3 separate regions of the Homo sapiens genome follow, and regions 2 and 3 are each linked to region 1. The links are contacts of gene promoters, found by promoter capture Hi-C in human tissues and cell types (Jung and others, 2019). All regions are on one chromosome and are shown on one strand. The core of a region is centred on a gene start or on the middle of the fragment in contact, and the rest is flanking DNA. Distances in the headings are between cores, read along the strand shown. Region 1 holds the start of AGPAT3 (1-acylglycerol-3-phosphate O-acyltransferase 3). Region 2 holds the start of RRP1 (ribosomal RNA processing 1). Region 3 has its middle 5.4 kb from the start of CSTB.

What was found. The method cuts DNA at HindIII sites, captures the fragments that hold promoters and counts their contacts. A contact is called where the count stands out against the background at its distance.
Region 2: a contact is called between the fragment with the promoter of RRP1 here and the fragment with the promoter of AGPAT3 in region 1, in 6 of the 25 tissues and cell types used here (adrenal gland, dorsolateral prefrontal cortex, lymphoblastoid cells and 3 more).
Region 3: a contact is called between a fragment that was not itself captured here and the fragment with the promoter of AGPAT3 in region 1, in 3 of the 25 tissues and cell types used here (IMR-90 fibroblasts, dorsolateral prefrontal cortex and lymphoblastoid cells).

What each region holds. Positions count from the first base shown.
Region 1 is chr21:43,863,152-43,866,843 of GRCh38, forward strand. It overlaps AGPAT3 (1-acylglycerol-3-phosphate O-acyltransferase 3), which reads left to right and starts at 2,072. Exons shown (of 10, transcript NM_020132.5): 1 at 2,072-2,194. RefSeq lists silencers at 1,131-1,490, 2,041-2,390, 2,511-2,830. The HindIII fragment of the contact is 11,781 bases long and covers 1-3,692 here.
Region 2 is chr21:43,787,218-43,790,914 of GRCh38, forward strand. It overlaps RRP1 (ribosomal RNA processing 1), which reads left to right and starts at 2,360. Exons shown (of 13, transcript NM_003683.6): 1 at 2,360-2,545. The coding sequence starts at 2,413. RefSeq lists enhancers at 1-265, 2,421-2,530 and silencers at 2,161-2,390, 2,601-2,770. The HindIII fragment of the contact is 35,062 bases long and covers 1-3,697 here.
Region 3 is chr21:43,769,146-43,772,586 of GRCh38, forward strand. No RefSeq gene overlaps it. Among named protein-coding and RNA genes, the nearest start is that of CSTB, 5.4 kb to the right of the region's middle. RefSeq lists enhancers at 1-62, 805-1,727, 1,728-2,649. The HindIII fragment of the contact is 6,907 bases long and covers 1-3,441 here.

The DNA of each region.
Region 1 (3,692 bases), core at 822-3,321:
TAGCCTCCCGAGTAGCTGGGATTACAGGCGCCTGCACCACGCCAGGCTAATTTTTTTTTTGTATTTTTAGTAGATACGGGGTTTCACCATCTTGGCCAGTCTAGTCTTGAACTCCTGACCTCGTGATCCACCAGCCTCAGCCTCCCAAAGTGCTGGGATTACAGACAGGTGTGAGCCACCGTGCCTGGCCATTTTTTGTTTGTTTGTTTGTTTTAAATAAAGCACATCATTGTATATTCACTGCTCTGCACTATTTTTATTTTTTAATTTAACAGATCTTGGAGACTATATCCTATCTGTGTACACAGAATTATCACATCACAACTTTAGAAAATGTTTTAAATTAAAAATGCTAAATGAATGTTCTAGAGTTTATTTAACCAAGTGTCTGGTTGTTCTCAGGCTTCCTGTGATTATAGGTATAGCTGTAAGTCAGCACATCCCTGTATCCACACATCCCGTGGTGCCTGTGAGAATTTATCTGTGGCACAGATTACCCAAAATGACATGAGGGGTGAGAGGTTTTACAAATGGTGAATTCCACGAGCTTTGCAAATCTTAACTCCTTTTTCAAGAATAAGGGAACTGTGAGTAGGACAGGTGCACGGTACTTTCATTTTATTTTAGTCTAAGTATTTTCTGAAATAATTTGAGGAGGCTTAAAGGGAGGTGCAAGCTGGGTGCGGGGGCTCATACTTGTAATCCCAGCACTTTGAGAGGAGGAGGTGGGAGAATACTTGAGCTCAGGAGTTCGAGATCAGCCTGGGCAACACCGTGAGGCCCCATTTCTACAAAAAAAATTTTTTTTAAATTAGCCAGACATGGTGGTGTGTGCCTGTGGTCCCAGCTACTTGGGAGGCTGAGGTGGGAGGATCACTTGAGCCCTGGAGTTCAAGGCTTCAGCGAGCTATGATTGTACCACTGCACTCCAGGGTGGGCGACAGAGCAAGACCCTGTCTCAATAATAATAAAAATAAAAAAAAAAAAAAGGAAAAAAAGGGGCACAGTAGACAGTACCAGTACTTGGTATTTTAAATGGTTTTCAAATGAAGCCCACCCAAGCTCAGCAAGTCCAGCCGGGGCCTGAGGACCTGAGCAGGCGCCAGGTCACACAAGGTACCGGGCGCAGGAGGCGGAGCCCGCAGCGGGCCCTGCCCTGACAGCGGCACCTGCGCGGCCTCCGCAGGTTCTGGGATCGGCCGCTGGCCAGGTGCAAGGGAGGGGGGACGGCAGCCGCTGTCCTGGGGCTGAGAGGGCTCCGCGGTCTGGAGGGGACGGCGTCAGCGCCCGCGGGGGTTCGCAGGGCAGCCCCGGGGCGACCCCCACCCCCGCCACGGTCAAGTGTCGATACAGTGTTGCCAGCCGGGTGCCAACTATGAATAAGTCCAAGGGCGCGGCACGTGGGCCGAAACGCGATCCTTCCGCGGAGCCGCTGCGCGCAGGGCCGTCCCCACCGAGCCCGCCGCGCGGCGACCCCTGACGGCGACCCTAAGCCCCGGCCGACCAGGGCAGGAGCTCGCGCGCGAAACTTCCCCGGCGCCCGCAGGAGACCCCGGCAGGGGAGATGGCGGGGCCCAGGCAGAGCTCGGAGGCCCCTCCCGGCCCCACCCCGCGCCCCGGCCCCCTCTGCCCCCGACCCGGTCCGGGGGAGCCCTCGCGGGACCCCAGCCTGGTCCTTCGCCGCCTCCCCCCGTTCAGCCCCGACCCCCCTGATCCCCGCGCCCCCCGCGGTCCCGGCCCGCCCCCTCCCCCAGCCCGGGCCCCAGCCCCGTCCGTTAGCGGATCCCACGCAGGCTCCGCGCCCGGCCCCGCCGGCGCCCTCGGCCCACACCTCTCTCCGCGCGCGTGTCCCGCCGTGTCGCCCCCGTGTCCCCTCCGCGTCCCCCCCCGCGCCGTCCCCCCGCGTCCCCCCCCGCGTCCTTCCCCCGTGTCCCCCCAGCGTGTCCCTCGGCCGCCCCGCGCGCGCCGGCGGAACTGTGGGATCGCCGCGCACAGGAAGTGGCGGCGGCGGCGCGGCCGAGGGCGGAGGGCGGAGGGCGGCGGGATGGGGGCCGGGGGCGGCGGGCGCCGCACTCGCTGAGGCCCCGACGCAGGGCCGGGCCGGGCCCAGGGCCGAGGAGCGCGGCGGCCAGAGCGGGGCCGCGGAGGCGACGCCGGGGACGCCCGCGCGACGAGCAGGTGGCGGCGGCTGCAGGTGAGCACCGAGGCCCCCACCCGAGGTCGGGCCGCCCCCCTCTTCCCCCACGCCCCGCCGCCGCCCGAGGTCGCCCTCCCGCCGCCGGAGGTCGCCCCTGCCCCAGCCGTCCGACCTCGGGCCGCCCGGGGCCCCGCGCCGCAATGGGCCGGCCGCGCTCCGCGGGGCGCGGGGCCTGGGAAGGCGCGGGGCCGGGAGGAGGTCTGGGCCCGGGTCCTGTGCGCCCCCCGCAACCCCGGCCTCCCCGGCGGCCTGGTCCAGCGCGAGGCCCCGGCCGCTTCCCGCAGCAGCCTCGGTGGCGCTGGGCCCAGCGGGGAGGCCCGGGGGTTCGGGGCGCCCGGGAGGGGCCCGGGCCGGGCCGAGGGAGGGCGAGTGGGTTCCCGCGGGGACGTCCCATCCCTCCGTCCTGGACTCTGCTCCGGGCCCCGCTCGGCTCCCCCGTGGACAGGACGCGCCCGCCGCCTGGTTTCGGGGCGCGGCGGACCCGGGACCCCCCCCAGGGGCCTCCTCCTCGCGCGCCCAGGCCAAGGGAGCAGTTTCACTTTTGCCGCTCCGCGCGGGGAGGGCTGCGGGGCCCGGGGTTGGCTGTGGGTTCGGCCCGGAGACCGGCGGCGCGTTTGCACCGGGCGGGTCAGGGGATGGGGTCAGTCCGGGGGCAAGAGCCGTGGGGGCGAAAACCCACTCCTGGCCACCCCAGGACCCTTGGAACATTGGTCCCAAGTACTTAGGAAAGGAGGGTTATTAGTATTTGAAGGCAGTTAAAAATGGTGCAGTGTTTTTTTTTTTTTTTTTAACTTTGAGAGAAGTTTAGTGACATGGGGAAAATGCTTTTATAAATGGCTTCCCAGACCTTTAAAAAAAAAAAAGCACAATTTTAAAAGCTTTGTCTAGGAGAATACTTGAGCAGTTGGGTTCTTTTTCCTGGGAAACATGATCTTAGTAGAAGAAAGATGTGGGCTGTTGGCCTCCAGACAGAGGGTGATGAGCATGCGGCTCTTATTAAAAATGAAAGCCAACGCCGAGAGCCTGCTGGGGGCTGGGAGGTGGGGCGGGCGGCGGGCCCAGGCTGCTAGAGGGACCCAGGATCCTGCAGCTTTTAAATTGCAGGCGCGGCTGCTCCGACTCGACTCGCTTAGGAATTGCTGAACTTCGTCTTCTCAGTTTGAAAGCTTCAGAGGGGTCTCCCGAGGATGCTGAGCACTCTCTTGATTTGGCCACTTCTTTGCCGCCCCCCCTCCCTCTTTCCAACCAATCCTCCTCCCCCACAGAGTTCGGCGTTAGCCTGTGCCTGTTACAACTCGCTTCTTGTATCCATTTCTGGTTAGTCTTAAGTATCTTCTTGAGGACATTGTCTAAAAAGCAGCTGCATGCCATTGACATTCAGACAGAACAGGGCCCCTTGGCCTTAGAAGGTGTAGGGGCCTTAAATATTCTGAAGGTGACTTCATGGAGTGGCCGCCCTCTGTGGTCACCCTACCTGTGCGTGGCCCTGTCCTGG
Region 2 (3,697 bases), core at 1,110-3,609, 76 kb before region 1:
GTGTGCATGCGACATACCCACTGTGTGCGAGACATACCCACTGTGCGCCTGACATGCCCATTGTGCACCTGACATGCCCATTGCGTGCGTGCAACATACCCACTGTGTGCGTGCGACATACCCACTGTGCGCCTGACATGCCCACTGTGTGCGTGCAACATGCCCACTGTGCGTGACATACCCAGTGTGTGCGTGCGACATACCCACTGTGTGAGTGCAGGGCCTCTTCTCATTCGTGCTTGTCCCCCGGAAAGTCATGTCCGCTGGAACCTCGGAATGTGGCCTTAATTTGGTAAACGGGTCTTTCCAGACATGGTTAGTTAACATGAGGTCATGCTAAATTAAGGCAGGCCTAAGTCCACACTGACTGACGTCCTCATAAGAAGAGGAGAGGCTGGCTGGGTGCAGTGCCTCCCGCCTGTAATCCCAGCACTTTGGGGAGACCGAGGCAGCCCGATCACCTGAGGTCAGGAGTTCGAGATCAGCCTGGCCAACATGGTGAAACCCCATCTCTACTAAAAACACAAAAATTAGCCAGAAATTGCTTGAATCCTGGAGGTGGAGGTTGCAGTGAGCCAAGATCGTGCCACTGCACTCCAGCCCGGGCGACAGAGTGAAACTGTCTCAACAACAACAACAACAACAAGAACTAATTCAGATTCTAAAACCAGTTGCTAAATGTTTCCTTTTTTTTTTCTTTTTAGACAGAGTTTCAAAATCTGTCGCCCAGGCTGGAGTGCAGTGGCCGGATCTTGGCTCACTGCAACCTCCGCCTCCTGTGTTCAAGCAATTCTCTTGCCTCAGCCTCCCGAGTAGCTGGGATTACAGGTGCTCGCCACCACACCCAGCTAATTTTTGTATTTTTAGTAGAGATGGGGTTTCACCATGTTGGCCAGGATGGTCTCGAACTCCTGACCTCGGGTGATCCACCTGCTTTGGCCTCCCCAAGTGATGGTTGGGATTACAGGCATGAGCCACCACTGCCAGCCTTTTCAACTTTTTATGAAAAATTTCATACATAGAAAATGTCAGAAGATAGGTCAATGAAGACCTGTATTCCTGCCTGTAGACGCCACACTTGTATTTTTTTGAGACGGAGTCTCACTCTGTCACCCAGGCTGGGGTGCAGTGGCGCGATCTCGGCTCACTGCAAGCTCCGCCTCCGGGGTTCACGCCATTCTCCTGCCTCAGCCTCCTGAGTAGCTGGGACTACAGGCGCCCGCCACCACGCTCAGCTAATTTTTTGTGTTTTTAGTAGAGACGGGGTTTCACCGTGTTAGCCAGGATGGTCTCGATCTCCTGACCTCATGATCCGCCCGCCTCGGCCTCCCAAAGTGCTGGGATTACAGGCGTGAGCCACCGCGCCCGGCCAACGCCACAACTGTTAACAGTGTGCCATAGTTGCTTATCTGCATACACATATGTGCGTGTAATGATTTACTTTTTTGCAGAATGAATTACAGACATCATGACAGGTCACCTTTACCAAAGAGTTCTGCAGTTATTTCTAAAAATAAAGAATATTTTTCTACTTCAGGGTATGTCAAACTGTGGCCCTAGGCCAAATGCAGCCTCCCCGTTTTTTTTTTTGTTGTTGTTTTTTGAGACAGAGTCTCACTCTGTCGCCCAGGCTGGAGTGCAGCGGCGCAATCTCGACTCACTGCAACCTCCGCCTCCCGGATTCAAGCAATTCTCCTGCCTCAGCCTCCTGAGTAGCTGGGATTACAAGCGCCCGCCACTACGCCTGGCTAATTTTTGTATTTTTAGTAGAGACAGGGTTTCACCATGTTGGTCAGGCTGGTCTCAAACTCCTGACCTCGTGATCCACCCGCCTCAGCCTCCCAAAGTGCTGGAATTACAGGCGTGAGCCACCGCGCCCGGCACACCCCTGGTTTTAAAAATAAAGTTTCGAGCCGAGAGTGGTGGCGCCCGTGGTCCCAGCTCCTCGGGAGGCTGAGGCTGGGGGATCCCTGGAGCCCGCGAGGCAAAGGCTGCAGTGAGCCGAGATCGCGCCTTGCACTCCAGCGTGGGTAACAGAGCGAGACCCTGTCTCAGGAAAAAAATACAAGTGGGGTTATAAATAAAATGAGATTAAAAAACAACAGATCTTTGCCTCAGAATCCCGACCCACCGCAGCCCCAGCGAGGCGCAGGCGCAGGCGCAGGCGCGCGCTCGCTGGTTCCGCCCATGCGCACAGGCAGGGAGCGCGCGCCCCCTCTGTAGCCTTCGGCCTCCGGGGGCTGCAGTTGCGCGGCTCGGCCACTGCGCGGCGGTGGCGTGCGCCTGGGCGGTGTCGCGGGCTGTGACGTCACGCCACGCGCCGGGGCCAGGAGGAGGCGGGCGCAGGAGGCGCGTGCTCAGTGTGCTGGGTACCAGGCGACTCCGGGACAGGGGGTCTCGGCCGTCGGCGTCATGGTTTCGCGCGTGCAGCTCCCGCCTGAGATCCAGCTGGCTCAGCGCCTGGCGGGGAATGAGCAGGTGACCCGGGACCGGGCGGTGAGGAAGCTCCGGAAATACATCGTCGCCAGGACTCAGCGGGCCGCAGGTTGGCGGGGGTGTGGGCGGCTGGCGTCTCGGGGGCCGGCTGGGCTGGTGCGGGTGTGGGCGGCGGCGGCCGGAGCTGGGGGCCCTCCGAGCCCTGTGGAACCTCCACGTGGCCGGGCCGGGCAGGCGGGGTCCACTGGCCTGTTCCCGCTGTTACCGGCCCACGGCCCCCGCCGCCGCTTTCCCTCGTGGTGCGGTGACTCTGGTCCCTCTGCGAGAACGCTCCTCCCCAGCCCCGTAACCCCTTTCCTAGCTCAGGCGTCCCCTCCCTCCAGTAGACCATGTACTCCTGCTGCCCTGCTGTTTGGGCACCCAGTATTTTTCCCTCATGGCAGCATTTCCCACTGTTTGCAGTTTTCTGTTTTGCGTTAATTATTGGATTGTTTTCCGATTTCCACTCGAGAGTACCTCTCTGAGGGCCGAGAATCTACTTCTTGTTCATGGTACCAGGTGGTTCTCCGAGCGTGGTCCCCCATCAGCAGTAGCATCCCCTGGACATTTGTTAGAAATACACGTTCTATGCCGGGCGCAGTGGCCCAAGCCTGTAATCCCAGCTACTTGGCACGTCGATGTGGGAGGATCACAAAGGCCCAGGAGTCCAGCCTGGGCAACATAGCAAGACTCCATTTCCATCGCAAAAGAAAAGAAAGAAATGCAAGTTCTAGGATCCCAGCCCTACTAAATCAGGACTGGCATCTGCTTTATGAAGCTGTTCAAGTGCTTCTGCTCCCCACACTCAGCCTGAGAACCACTGCTGCAGGAACAGGTTGCCAGACACATAGGACTTCAGTGAATGTCAACTGAGTAATGTTTTAAATTAAAATTTTTTGTTATTTTTCTGAGTGAGACAGACCTCACTGTCATCCGTGGTGGAGGAGTGCATTGGCACGATTACAGCTCACTGCAGCCTCTACCTCCCAGGCTCAAGTGAGCCTCCCATCTCAGCCTCCCCAATAGCTGGGACTACTGGCACCGTGCGGCCAGGCCAGCTAAGTTTTGTATTTTTTGTACAAATTGGGGTCTTCCTATGTTGCCCAGACTGGTCTTGAACTCCTGGCCTCAAGTGATCCTGCCTCAGCACTCAATTCCAAAGTGCTGGGAGTACAGGCGTGAGCCACCGCACCTGGCCTCAGTAATTTCTGTTTCTCTCGTA
Region 3 (3,441 bases), core at 78-2,577, 95 kb before region 1:
CTTCTGGGCAGCTCAATTAGGAAATCTTAGACGCTCTACCTGGTAGTGGAATGATTAGATTACTCAAGCCTACAATTTTATCTTTTGCACAATTTGCATCCAATTATGTTATTCTGTCTCTAATCTAGTGGGAATCTATTCTCATCTCCATCAGTTGGCCCTGCTTCATAACGCACGTTTCCTGACAGCAGTTAGAGGAGAGACTGAGTAAGGCTGTGGTGGCATCTCCCAGCTCCTTTGGGCTGGTAAGGATACTGTTGGCTTTGCCTGGCTCCCCCCACCCAGACCCTGTCTACACAGACAGAACCTCAGCTAACACAGAGCCTGGCTGCTCTGTTCTGCCAGATCGGGAACACATGGCCAGCAAAACCTGCAGGCACAGGGCGCGGCGGCTCACGTCTGTAAGCCTACCACATTTTGGGGCTGAGGTGGGTGGATCACTTGAGCTCAGGAGTTCAAGACCAGCCTAGGAAACATGGCGAAACCCCGTTGCTACAAAAAACACAAATAATTAGCAGAACAAGGTGGCATGCATCTGTAGTTCCAGCTGCTCAGGAGGCTGAGGCAGGAGGATCACCTGAGCTAGGGGAGGTCGAGACTGCAGTGAGCTATGGTGGCCCCACTGCACTCCAGCCTGGGCAACAGAGTGAGACCCTTGTCTCAAAAAAACAAAACCCAGGCCTGGAGTGGGGGCTCACGCCTATAGTCCCAGCACTTTGAGAGGCTGAAGGGGGTGGATCACCTGAGGTCAGGAGTTCGAGACTGGCCTGGCCAACATGGTGAAACCCGGTCTCTACTAAAAATACAAAAATTAGCCAGGCATGGTGGCAGGCACCTGTAATCCCAGCTACTCAGGAGGCTGAGGCAGGAGAATCACTTCAACCCGGGAGGTGGAGGTTGCAGTGAGCCAAGATAGCACCATTGCACTCCAGCCCAGGTGACAAGAGTGAAATTCCATCTCAAAAACAAACAAACAAAAAAACAAAAAAAAACCCTACCAGCTTTGGGAAAAGTGATGCTCGCTGAGAATTCGGGGTGGAGGGTAGGAGACCCAACCAAGATGACACTGTCACTCGAGAGTGAGTGACAGCTGGCTGGGGACCCGCAGCTGCCTGCTCAGCCCAGGGAGCATGCCTGCCTCAGGAGCTTCAGAGTGAGGGTCTGCGCTCTCAGCGTGGGGCGGTTCCTTGCCTAGCATCTGTTGAGTGCATTTCCATCAGCCAGGGCCCCAGTGGAAACAGGCAGCACTCACAGGAGCAACTCAAGCAGCGTTTGGTGTCCAGCGTGTGGAAGCGGTGTTCCCTTTCAGGACGGGGCCCGCGTTACAAACGGGGAGCTCAGGCCAGGCCGTCCTGGGCTCCTGCACGTTCTGGACTTTGCGCACCCACCCCTCCACCTTCCCGTCCTACCTGTGACTTGAGCAGGCGCCCAGGCTGTAGGGCGGACTGCAGGAGAGGGGCTGCCCCTGGAGGGGGTTGTAGGCCTCTGCTGCCCTGGCTCCCCTTGCCGTTTTCATTTATTTATTTATTATTATTATTATCTTCAAGACAGGATCTCTCTCTGTCACCCAGGCCAGAGTTCAGTGGTGTGATGATGGCTCACTGCAGCCTCGACCTCCCGGCTCAAATGATATGATCCTCCCACCTCAGCCTACCAAGTAGCTGGGACTACAAGTGTGTGTCGCCAAACCTGGCTAATTTTTTATTTTTTGTAGAGATAGGGGTCTCACTCTGTTGCCTAGGCTGGTCTCAAACTCCTGAGCTCAAGTGATCCTCCCACCTCGGCCTCCCAAAGCTCAAGCCATTTTTAACATTGCCGAGGCAGTTTTGGGGAAACATGCCTGAACGAACCATGAGTAAGACCTCCACGTTTTCTTTCTGGCTCTCAGGGGTCTGGAGGGGAAGTGGCTCATGGCAGGTCCCAGCACGTAGGCCTCTGTTTTCTGGTTCATGTTCCAGGATGGGGAAGGACCTAAGCCATCAGTGTCCTGGAGATCCAGCGTCTTAATTCATTCAGGGTAGCCCGTCCCGCCCTCCAGACTGCTGGGCACACCAGGGGCTCTGCTCCTGCTCTGTCCCAGGACTCAGGGCCCCTCCAGGGCAGCTGCCGTGACGTCGTGGCTATGAGGCATTCAGCCGCCTCCCAGAATGCGCCATGCTCTTGCCCAACCTGGACTCCCCACTCTCTGCTGCTGGCGCCAGGACGGTCTCACCCACCTCAGCCTCTAGCTCCTCCTCCTCAAGCCTCAGGTCTGAACTTGGCCATGGCCTCTGCCCAGAAGCCTTCTGCACCTCTGTCAGATCCCCGTTTACCCCCAGCAGGACCCTCCCTTAGGGCACTTGGTACAATTTCACATCCGTGACAGTGACAGTCACCGCCCCCATGCTGTGAGCCCCACGGGAGTCCGAGCTGACTTCATTCTTCCCCTACTACGTGCCTCATCCACTTTGAGCTCCTGTATTAGTCCATTCTCATGCTGCTAATAAAGACATATCCATGACTGGATAATTTATAAAGGAAAGAGGTTTAATTGACTCACAGTTCAGCATGGCTAGGGAGGCCTCAGGAAACACAATCATGGCAGAAGGGGAAGGAAACACATCCTTCTTCACATGGTGGCAGGAAGGAGACGTGCCAGCAAAAGCGGGGAAAGCCCCTTATGAAACCATCAGATCTCATGAGGATTCACTCACTATCACGAGAACAGCATGAGGGTAACCACCTCCATGATTCAATGACCTCCCACCAGGTCCCTCCCATGACACGGGATTATGGGAGCTATAATTCAAGATGAAATTTGGGTGGAGACACAGCCACACCATATCAGAGCTCCTAATGCACTCTCAGAGGGCAGGGTTAAACCAGCGGGGGGTTCGGTTAAACCAGCGGGGGGTTCGGTAACAAGGGACTTTTGTCAGCGGGTAGTGAAATTCATCAGATTTCCAAGCTGCTGCTGTTGATGCTCCTAAGGAAGCAGACAGCGTGTGGATGAAATTGACAACTTCATATAAATTATATATATATATAGAGAGAGAGAGAGAAACGGAGTCTTACTCTGTTGCCCAGGCTGGAGTGTAGTGGTGCAATCTCGGCTCACTGCAACCTCCTCTGCCTCCTGGGTTCAAGCTATTCTCTTGCCTCAGCCTCCTGAGTAGCTGGGATTACAGGCACCTGCCTGGCTAGTTTTTTGTATTTTATTTTATTTTTTTCAGTAGGGATGGGGTTTCACCATGTTGGTCAGGCTGGTCCCGGAACTCCTGACCTCAAGTGATCCACCCACCTCAGCCTCCCAAAGTGTTGGGATTACAGGCGTGAGCCTGTAATTTTGATCCCTTTGTCAACTTGTATTTAAACCAGACCACAGCATTAATTACATATTTTATTTTCTGTTTTACACTGATATTTCCTGTTTACACACAAGCTTCTAACCCTAAATCCAGC